Regions from separate parts of the Homo sapiens genome. Here region 2 is linked to region 1. The links are contacts of gene promoters, found by promoter capture Hi-C in blood cells and fetal thymus (Javierre and others, 2016). All regions are on one chromosome and are shown on one strand. The core of a region is centred on a gene start or on the middle of the fragment in contact, and the rest is flanking DNA. Distances in the headings are between cores, read along the strand shown.

Region 1 (4,968 bases), core at 1,851-4,350:
GTCCTAGTGAGTTCATCAGCAAGTACTAAAAATATTTTTTCTTCTTAGCAAATGACCAGAAAATACCAAAAACAAAAAAAGGTCATGGATGAAAGAAATATACATTATTTTTCTTAAGTTTTAAAATGTAACATTGTAATTTTTATCATAACATATCAATTATATGGGCAGAAACATACCTTTTTTGGGTACATTATAAACGATGGGTCCGGTGCCTTTGCTATTATGATGAAGCCAAAAATAAGACTTGAAAAATCAAACTGGGCTGGGCCCAGTGGCTTGTGCCTGTAATCTCAGCACTTTGGGAGGCCGAAGTGGGCAGATCACCCGAGGTCAGGAGTTTAAGACCAGCCTGGCCAACATGGTGAAACCCTGGCTCCACTAAAAATACAAAAATTAGCCGGGCGTGGTGGCGCATGCCTGTAATCCCAGCTACTCAGGAGGCTGAGGCAGAATTGCTTGAACCCAGGAGGCGGAGGTTGCAGTGAGCCGAGATCGCGTCACTGCACTTCAGCCTGGGCAACAGAGTGAGACTCTGTCTGAGTTGAGCACAATTTTATAAAACATTACACTGGTAATGTTGTCATTTTATGTTACTTCCTAAGAGAAGCTTTCCCTGATCTCCTGACTTGGTTAGTCCTCCTATTATGTGCTGTCAAACTTCCTTCTAGTTATCTTCCATAATACTTAACACAGCAGTAATTAAAAAATATAACCGCAATAATTTGTTTATGACAGTCTTCCTTGGTAAGAGTCTAAGCTCCATGACAGCAAGGACTATTCTCTTTACTATAATATATACATGTTATATACTATATTATATACTATATACTATACTATATATATACTATATACTATATATACTATATACTATATACTATATTATATACTATATACTATATTATATACATGTTATATTCTCTATTATATTACCAGCTCCTAACTCAATGAATGAATAAAAGTAGACAAATTTAACACATGAATCATGATAAATAACAAAATTAACTTTCTAGTTTGGCAAAAACTATATTGTTGGTTTCATGTTAAGGTTTTGTTCGTTGGGGTGGGAGCTGAGTAGGGAGACTTCAAAGCTTTTCCAAAGAGAAAATATGTAAGATACTAAAAGTCATAAAATGTTACTAACTAAAATGTTACATGGAACATAAGGCTGTAATAAATAATCTTACACCATTTGAAAATACATAAAAATTTAGACGAGTAAAAAATTTAGGAAGAAGTGACAACGTTAAAAAGCTGTCGCGCAGGATCAATCAATAAAAATGTTGATCAAAGTAATGCAAGGGCTATTAATCAAGATGTTAATCAAACAAAAGGCTTAGAAAATGCAAAGATTTAATTTTTTCTCTCATAGTCAAGCAATTACCTTTTCTATCAGGTTTAGTGCATCTTTTAACCAGCCGAATGGAGTCCTTTACAAACTGCCGACTTGGCTCAACAAACTGCATTACCTGATCCATGACTGCCTGTTTAAAACAAAAAAGATACTCACTGGTATTGGTTCTCATACAATAAGCACTTGCTCATTTATATAAAGATGTAAATGAGACCAGCCACTGAATTCACGTCTAACATGGGTCAATTCCACCTCCTAAAATAAAACAAAAAACAAACTCCAAAGCCTAAATTGATATTATTTTTGGAAATTTCAGTTAATTATCAAAGGCAATAAGAAAAGCACAGATCTTACTCATGATATCTTCACTGACAAAGAACAGCACACGCAATATAAAAAGCCTATCTCTATTAAAAGGTTAAAAAAGGTTACGCAATTGGTAACACATCCATTCCTTTTCTCACTCTGCAGTCCCATCCATTTCTCATTCTACAGTCCCCTCACCGCTCCTAAGGAACCATCAGTGTTGAGATCCAACAATTACTTTCCATATTTTATTTTAAACTACGCAGAAGCCAGTGTCTTGTACAGTGAATGCCAACTACGGTGCTGCAAGAGCCTAGAATAGAGGCAAACGTGAATTTCAACCTTGATTTTTCTAAAACGTGCCAATACAACATACTTTTCTAAAGTATAAAGAATGGCTAAAGGAAGACGCAAATTCTGAGAAGCTACTAGCTAAATTTCAAACTTTTCGATTTGAACACATCTTTTAAGGAAACAGGGCTATATATTTTACCATACAGGTTCTTTTGAGGAATCTATTACCCAATAGAAATGTTATCCGATCTTAGCTTTGAGAGCCACTGCTATAGTAAGTAAAGCAGCCAGGGTGTTATTTGTATTTTCCTCCATTTCCAGTACTCAGAACAGTGGCCAGGTGGTAGTTCAAATCACTGGCTATGGAATGTAAACCTCTGTAAGCCCCAGTTGCCTTCCTTAGTGTAGGGTGTGGACAACGAAATGAAATAATGTCAATGAAACACCAGGAATTCTGCAACGTTCTGGGGGCAAAAACACAGTAATGTCTGTTTTCTCAGTATTTCACTCAACTTTGCTCTTGAAATCCAAAGGGCTTAAACTTTTTGTAATCATAGTTGTCACGAAGGAAGCTAAGAATTCTTTATCCAGAAAAACGCACGCTACACACAATACCGCACTCAATGTCAGGGGTAGAGATCCAAAAACCAACTATGATCTCTCGAACTAGACTCTAGACCAATGCTCTCACTTTAAACCACGGAAGCGGCGGCAGGACCAGAGCTGAGTACAGCTCTTCCCAGACAGGACTCCACAACAGCACACAGAGCCAACCCCGAAGGGATCGGGCAGCAGGACATCATCTTTGGCTGCAGCACAGAAGACGCCGGGGCAGGACGCTAAGCCCTGGAGCCCCGCGGGCCGGCCACCCAGCTCGCCGGGAGTCCGCGGCCCTGGGTCTGCCTTCCGCCAGAGGCCGAGTTGGTGGGATGTCGGCGGCCAGACCCCGGCCCTGAGCCAGGGGACCACTTACCGCCCGCCCCGCGACGGCCGCCCGGGGAGACACGCCGGCTCGCCCACGCCCGCTGCCCCCAAGAGTCGCAAAGGTGTGGCCGCCCCGTTCGCCCGTACCGACCGGTGGGAAGAAACTCACCTACCCAACCGACACCTAAAATGCCAGGGACACGTAGCACTGGAGCTTGCTGATGGAGGCCCACCGGAACCGGAATCCGGGTTTCTGCCAACAGCCCGCCCACTCCTCCGTCCTATTGGTTCCTTACGCGAAACCTCAGTGCGCAAGCGCAGCGCGACGTGCGCCCGGCCACGCTTCCTGGAAGAGATGCATTGCGGAGCTCGCTAGTTGGGGCGTTGGCCTTCCTTAGGAGTGTGAGTCTAGCGTTATCCCTTTTTTCCGGCTGGATCCCGGGTTACCCCACCAGCCCGACCTCAACCCACTCACGTCCACAGCACGAGCCCCAGCGGCCTTGCGCGGTGCTTGCTCTCTAGTAGCGGCTGACTAGGTAAATCCTAAGTTGTGGTTTTTTTTCCTGCGGTCCAGCTTGATGTGTGTCCTTACGGTACATACTTTTTGTATGTATATAATGTTGGTCGAAATGAAGCTTATGAGCAATATAATGTTATGGCCTAATTCAAAATAGTATCCCCACCCCAAACTTTGACTTTGGCTGTCATTCACGGTAATGAATGCCGCTGTAATTGAGGCCTTTGTCAAACGCTAGGTTTGGTTACGGGAGTGGTCATAATGTACACACAGCTCCCCACTTACCCACAAGGATGCATTCCAGGAACCCCCCGCCGGATGGCTGAAACCGTCAGTAGAGACGGGGTTTCACCATATTGGCCAGGCTGGTCTTGAACTCCTGACCTCGCGATCCACCCGCCTCGGCCTCCCAAAGTGCTGGGATTACAGACGTGAGCCACCGCGCCCGGCCATGTTTCCTTTTAGCAATGGAGCATAACGGGATCTGAGGAACAATATAACTCAGGAAGAGCTGATGGAACATTAAGACGTGTTACAACTCTCAGTGCTTCTTAAACTTCTTCAGTAACTGAAATCTCCTGTTAAGTTTTTTAGTAAATGAAATTTGTAACCCCAGAACCTCCAGATATTGATTCAGTGGGTCAGGGTTAGAGGTCACACACCTCCGTATATCTGACTGTAGGTGGTCCATACACACTACACATACCTTGCCTTAGCTTTAAGAGTCACTTTTAAATTCTGAACAGACTGAGATGCGTTTGACTAGTTCTTCATCCCTGGGACTTCAGCCCATGTGTCATCTCCTTAGAGGCCTATAGTGACCATCTAAGGCAATCCTGTCTATCTCATGCTCTTTTTTCCTTTTTCACAATACCTTCTTCATTTGCTGCATAGCATTTGTATTAACATTTATTTATTTATTCCTCGGTCTGTCTCCCTACACTGTAAATCCCCTTACTAGACCATAAGCTCCAAGTGGGTATAATATAGCATCTAGTAAAGTGCTAAACACAGTAAATGCTCAATAAATAATTTTCAAAAAAATAATTCATTCCAAAAAAACATAAAATCACATGTTGGCAAGTTCACCCCAACCACCAAATGTCTGAGTTGACAGTATTTTCAGCAAAACACAGAAAATCAAGTAACACATACAGTGGTTCCCCTTATCCAAGAAAATCTGGTTCAAAAAGAGATGTGTACCAGAAGGTAATCTGGGAGAGGCCACATTCAAATAACTTTCATTACAGTGTATTGTTATAATTGTCTACTCACCTGATTTCGGGAGTTTGAGACCAGCCAGACCAACGTGGAGAAACCCCGTCTCCACTAAAAATACAAAAATTAGTCTGGAATGGTGTCGCATGCCTGTAACCCTAGCTACTCAGGAGGCTGAGGCAAGAGAATCCCTTGAACCCGGGAGGTGGAGGTTGCAGTGAGCTGAGGTCACACGACTGCACTCCAGCCTGGGCAACAGAGCAAGACTCCGTCTGTAAAAAAAAAAAAAAAAAAAAACAGGCTGATAACAGCAAATCTGTGCAAAAATACGTAACAATCAGAACTCTAGAACTCT
Region 2 (4,968 bases), core at 1,755-4,254, about 10 Mb after region 1:
CATTACTCTTCTAAATAAGCATCATTTGTTAGGTCTTTTTTTTTTTTTTTTTTTCATGGTTCAGGGTAAAAAAATCAGGCATTGGTTAGACATTTATCCTTCATAATAGTCTCTATAGCAGATTCTACTGCAAAGGCTATGGTTACACAATAGACTTTTTTTACTAAAGTTGTGCTAAATAATGGAATTTCTTGAGATTACTTATTGCATAAACAGAAAAGTATCTGTGTAGTTGCTAATATGCATAGTTGCACATGGAGAAATATATTATAGAGATTATACAGAAATATATTACACGTATTACAGAGATTCAGTTACGGGGGTTTAAGAAACAGGCTGCTTGGTTGAAATGAGGAGACCATTTATTTAGCTGATAACTTGGTCTATCTCTCAAAATTGAGAAGATAACCAAAAAGGAGAAATTGTTAAATTATAGCCTGAAGCTCTCTGTTTTCATGTTTAATTTTGGTCAGTAGGTTTTTTGTTTGTTTGTTTTTCTTTTTTTTTTTTTTTTGGTACATACTAAACTGAAACCTAACTGGATATGTAAGTAGATTATAACCCATTCCTGTACCAGCCACTGTGATTTTGCCAATAAAAGGACATCAACTCTTCAAACCATGTTCAAATAAGGCAAATCCCAAGCTGTAATCAATTTGGCTGTTTCTGTACCTCAATTTCATTTTCTGTATGCCACTTTGCTTTTTCTGTTGATCAATTTTTTTACCATGTTGCTGTGCTGGAGTCTCTCTGAGCCTATTCTGGGCCCACAGGCTGCCTGATTTGCAAATCATTCTTTGTTCATTTAGACTCTGTTACATTCAATTTCTCTGAAGGTTTTGTTTTTTTTTTTAGATGTTTACAGATTTTATCTATGATAAAAAATAAGTAATGTGTTGCTGGGCTTTGATTTTCTCAACTCATCCCTCATCTATCTTTTTCCACATATGCTATGTCCTTTTGAAATGCTCCTGCAACTTTTTTCTTTTCTGTTTCTTTTCTTTTCTTTTTTTTTTTTTGGAGAAAGGATCACACTCTCACCACCCAGGCTGAAGTGCAGTGTCGTAACCAATCATGGCTCACTGCAGCCTCGACCTTCCAGGCTCAAGTAATCCTCTTGCCTCTGCCACCTGAGTAGCTGGGACTACAGGATTGCCTCATGCTGGCTAATTTTTATTTTTATTTATTTTTATTTTTTATTTTTTTTGAGACGGAGTCTCGCTCTGTCACCCAGGCTGGAGTGCAGTGGTGGGATCTTGGCTCACTGCAAGCCCCATCTCGTGGGTTCATGCCATTCTCCTGCCTCAGCCTCCCGAGCAGCTGGGACTGTATTTTTAGTAGAGACGGGGTTTCACCGTGTTAGCCAGGATGGTCTCGATCTCCTGACCTCGTGATCTGCCCTCCTCGGCCTCCCAAAGTGCTGGGATTACAGGCATGAGCCACCGCGCCCGGCCATGACTGGCTAATTAAAAAAAAAAAAATTTTCATGCACATAGGATCTTAACTATGTTATTCAGGCTGCACTTGAACTCCTGAGCGCAAGTGATTCTCCCATCTCAGCTTGCCAAAGTGCTAGGATTATAGATGTGAGCTACCGTGTGCTTCTTCAATTTCTTAAGATTATTTCTAGCAATAATAATAAACAGTGCTATATGGGCACAAATCTAAAAGAAATCTGGCTTCTATTTTAGAAGTGTCACTCTCCAGGATTTCAAGGGTCAAATGGAGTTAATTCTGAGTCCCAGCCCAGCCACTTAATAGCTGTGGGTCTTTGCACAAATTTTTTTTTTTTTGATGTGGAAGAGTTATATAAACCACATATGCAAAAAAAGGCAGAATGATACTGATTGCAAAAATGTTAGCAATTTTTCATCCCTCCGCTATCCATGCCCATTGCCAGGTGCATTTACAGCTGTTTCCATTGAGATCCAGTTCTGTTTTCCAAACCCTAGATCTGGCTGGCCTTATTTGCTCAGGGCAGTAAAAACCTGTGAACAGTGCAGTGTGCTAGTTTGAGGCGTAGGCTCAAATGGTTTTGCATGCTTCTGTTTTTCTTTCAGAAGGCTACTATCTCCGCGAAAAAAGCCCATGTTAGCCAGATGGAAGATAAAATAGTATGGGGAGGAGAAGCAAGTTGCCTCTGTTGACAGCCTCAGAAGCAGAAGCTCACCCCCAGAAGCACAGCTGCCTAGTCAACAAGCAGCTGATGATACATGTCTGAAGGAACTCAGCTGAGGTCACAAGAATGGTCTCACTGAGCCCAGCCTAAATGACTAACCATCTCAATTAGAGTGAATTCCACCTGTTTATTCTTAAAGTTTGACTACTAGAAAATTTGGAATTCACATGTGCTCTGTAATCCCAGCACTTTGGGAGGCCGAGGCAGGTGGATCACCTGAGGTCAGGAGTTCGAGATCAGCCTGACCAACATGGCAAAATTCTGTCTCTATTAAATATACAAAAAGTAGCCGGGCGTGGAGGCGGGTGCCTGTAATCCCAATTACTCAGGAGGCTAAGGCAGGAGAATCACTTGAGCCCGAGATGCGGAGTTTGGGGTGAGCCGAAATCGTGCCACTGTGCTTGAGCCTGGGTGAGAGTGAGACTCTGTCTCAAAAAAAAAAAAGAAAAAAATCTCAGGCTGCCTGCTCAAAGGACCAGAAGCCAGTACGGTTATAAAATCTGGAATTTAAAAATAATTGTTATATTCAGATGTGAATAGCTATATGTTATTTATAAATGCATACGACCTTATACACAAGGTTAAATGCAAATGCCCTCTGGGGTGGGCCTGACTCAGCTCAGGGAGGAAGCCCTTCTGGAAAAGGCTGCTGCTTAGGTTTAACTCTGTCTTCCTTCAGCCCAGCACCTGAGCACATCTGTCACTCAGGGCCTGAGGGGGCGGGTTGTTAAACGTTATCCAATCAGGGACGCCGGGCTGGGAACGGTCCAATCAGGCACCCAGCTGGAGCGGACATGACGTCTTCCGGGAGGCGGCGGGGTCTTTGTCTCGCTGCAGCGGGTGCTGCAGGTCTGGCCTTCACTTTTCTGCGTCCTCTTACTCCTAGAGGCCCAGCCTCTGTGGCGCTGTGATCTGGTTATTGGGAGATTCACAGCTAAGACGCCAGGATCCCCCGGAAGCCTAGAAATGGTGAGAGTGCTGGGTCCGACATCCCGAGAGAGGGGGAGGGAGCTGGTTGGAACCGGTCGGAAGTGGCTGTGGCAGTACTCGGGTCTTCCCGCAGTCGGCTGCAAAATCCGCGGCCCCGAGTTCTTGGCACAGCTCGGCCCTCAGTCCCCTTAAGCCATAGCATGGCAGCTGGGCTGACAGCCGGAACCAGGCGTCCTGTCTCCTCCCTGCGCAGTGACTGTGCCCTGGCCTGGAGCCCTCTCTGAGCAGCTCTGCACCCGCAGCGATTGTGCAGAGACGACGGGAGGGTCGTCAGGGGAGAATCCTGACTCGGGGTGCTGGGTTCATGAATGGGAAGAGGTTTCCTCCGCGGGCTTCCCTGTCCCTCTTTTCCCCTATTAAAATTTATGAAAGTCACCGCAAAAAAATTAATTTAATCAAACAGTGATTCAAGAATTGTGGAGCACCCAGCTGTGGTTTGCAGTAGTGGTCCGTGGGAGGGGTTTGAAGGAAACACTTGTATAAGGTGTATGATAAAACCAAATTCAGTAATTGGTTAGTAGAGTTATGTAGTTTCTTAATTTGTACAATGAAGGAGGAAATTTCCTGGTCATGTAATCAGAGGTTAATTGGCAGTTTACAGTTGGTTAAACATGAATTTTATTTTTCACAAGGTAGTAATTTACAAAAAAATGCATTTGAGTTAGATTTTTTTAAAACCAGAAACCCTGGGACTGGAGCGACCTCAGTCTAATTGCCTGCCACTTAATTATTTTCACACTCCACAGGGGACAGATCTTCCCCTTCATTTTTCACATGTGTCCCAAGCAGGGTCTCAAGACTCCTCCCCCTCCCCATTTCCCATTCCTTCAGCCTAACTCTGGCTTGCAGTAAAATACTAAATTTCCAGTTCCTTCTGACATTCCCAAATGCCAACTTCCCCTTCCTAATTCACATTATCAACTATTTGTCCTTTAGTGTACATTTGAAATACTGTATTTTAATTAATCATTTTTTGACAAAGCATGGATGGCATTTTAAAAAAGATTTGTTATCTGTTTGTAAATATTTCCCATGAGAAGAAACCAAAGACTCATCCCCTGATGCTGTATTGTAAAAAATCTCTGTGCCTTTTTTTTTTTTTTTAAATCTTCCCTAGGTACAGAGATCTTATCAGAATATTTTTGGGTCAAGGTTTCCCTTTGGAAACTTTATAAGGTAATGTGTCCTTAGTCACTCTTCAGTTTTTTCCTTGGTCCTGGGTTTCAGTACTTTCTGAGGATAAATCAAAATATCCACTGTGGCTGTGTATGCTAGAATCTCTGGTAAATTTCAGCTCCTGGCCTGGAATGAACTCTGGTTATCTGGGAATGGGAGACAGAGGACAACCTGAGGTTGGAGTGTAGCCTCTCAAGGGAGCAGGTGAATGCCCTGGGGCTGAGAGGAATCTCCTGGTGTACTCTTCCTTTGAAAAGCAAACCCTTTGAGAAGTTAAGATTGTCTTCAAACCAACCCAGTGTCCATTTCCGGAGACATATTGCTGGTCAATCAATCATATGCTGGTATTGAGGGGAGAACACAGAAATAATTTCGGCCCACTGGATTCTCTAAGATTTGTGAAAGAAATGATAGTATCCAAAAAGACAAATCAAACCTTACCCCAGTGAGATGGTTCAAGAACTTGCAAAGTGAAATGTACTTGGGGCAGTCACTGAGGCATAGTGCAGCGTCTTCAGAGAGGGTGGTCTTCAGAGAGGGTGGTCGTTTAGCACTTAAGTGAGCAGGATGGGGTGGGAGAATCTCTCAAGTGATTGGGTGGCTTGACTTGACATGTGAGTGAG

Evidence for each region. The method cuts DNA at HindIII sites, captures the fragments that hold promoters and counts their contacts. A CHiCAGO score of 5 or more calls a contact.
Region 2: a contact is called between the fragment with the promoter of ZNF138 here and the fragment with the promoter of SEC61G in region 1, in 4 of 17 cell types (total CD4 T cells, naive CD8 T cells, naive CD4 T cells and 1 more). The highest score is 20.4, in total CD4 T cells.

What each region holds. Positions count from the first base shown.
Region 1 is chr7:54,756,111-54,761,078 of GRCh38, forward strand. It overlaps SEC61G (SEC61 translocon subunit gamma), which reads right to left and starts at 3,101. Exons shown (of 4, transcript NM_014302.4): 1 at 3,048-3,101; 2 at 1,385-1,484. The coding sequence starts at 1,478. SEC61G-DT (SEC61G divergent transcript) reads left to right here and starts at 3,203. Exons shown (of 3, transcript NR_110040.1): 1 at 3,203-3,414. RefSeq lists a silencer at 2,751-3,070 and an enhancer at 3,304-4,239. The HindIII fragment of the contact is 2,422 bases long and covers 1,090-3,511 here.
Region 2 is chr7:64,791,424-64,796,391 of GRCh38, forward strand. ZNF138 (zinc finger protein 138) reads left to right here and starts at 3,005. Exons shown (of 4, transcript NM_001271639.2): 1 at 3,005-3,148. The coding sequence starts at 3,146. RefSeq lists enhancers at 2,731-2,780, 3,021-3,260, 3,045-3,605. The HindIII fragment of the contact is 8,026 bases long and covers 1-4,968 here.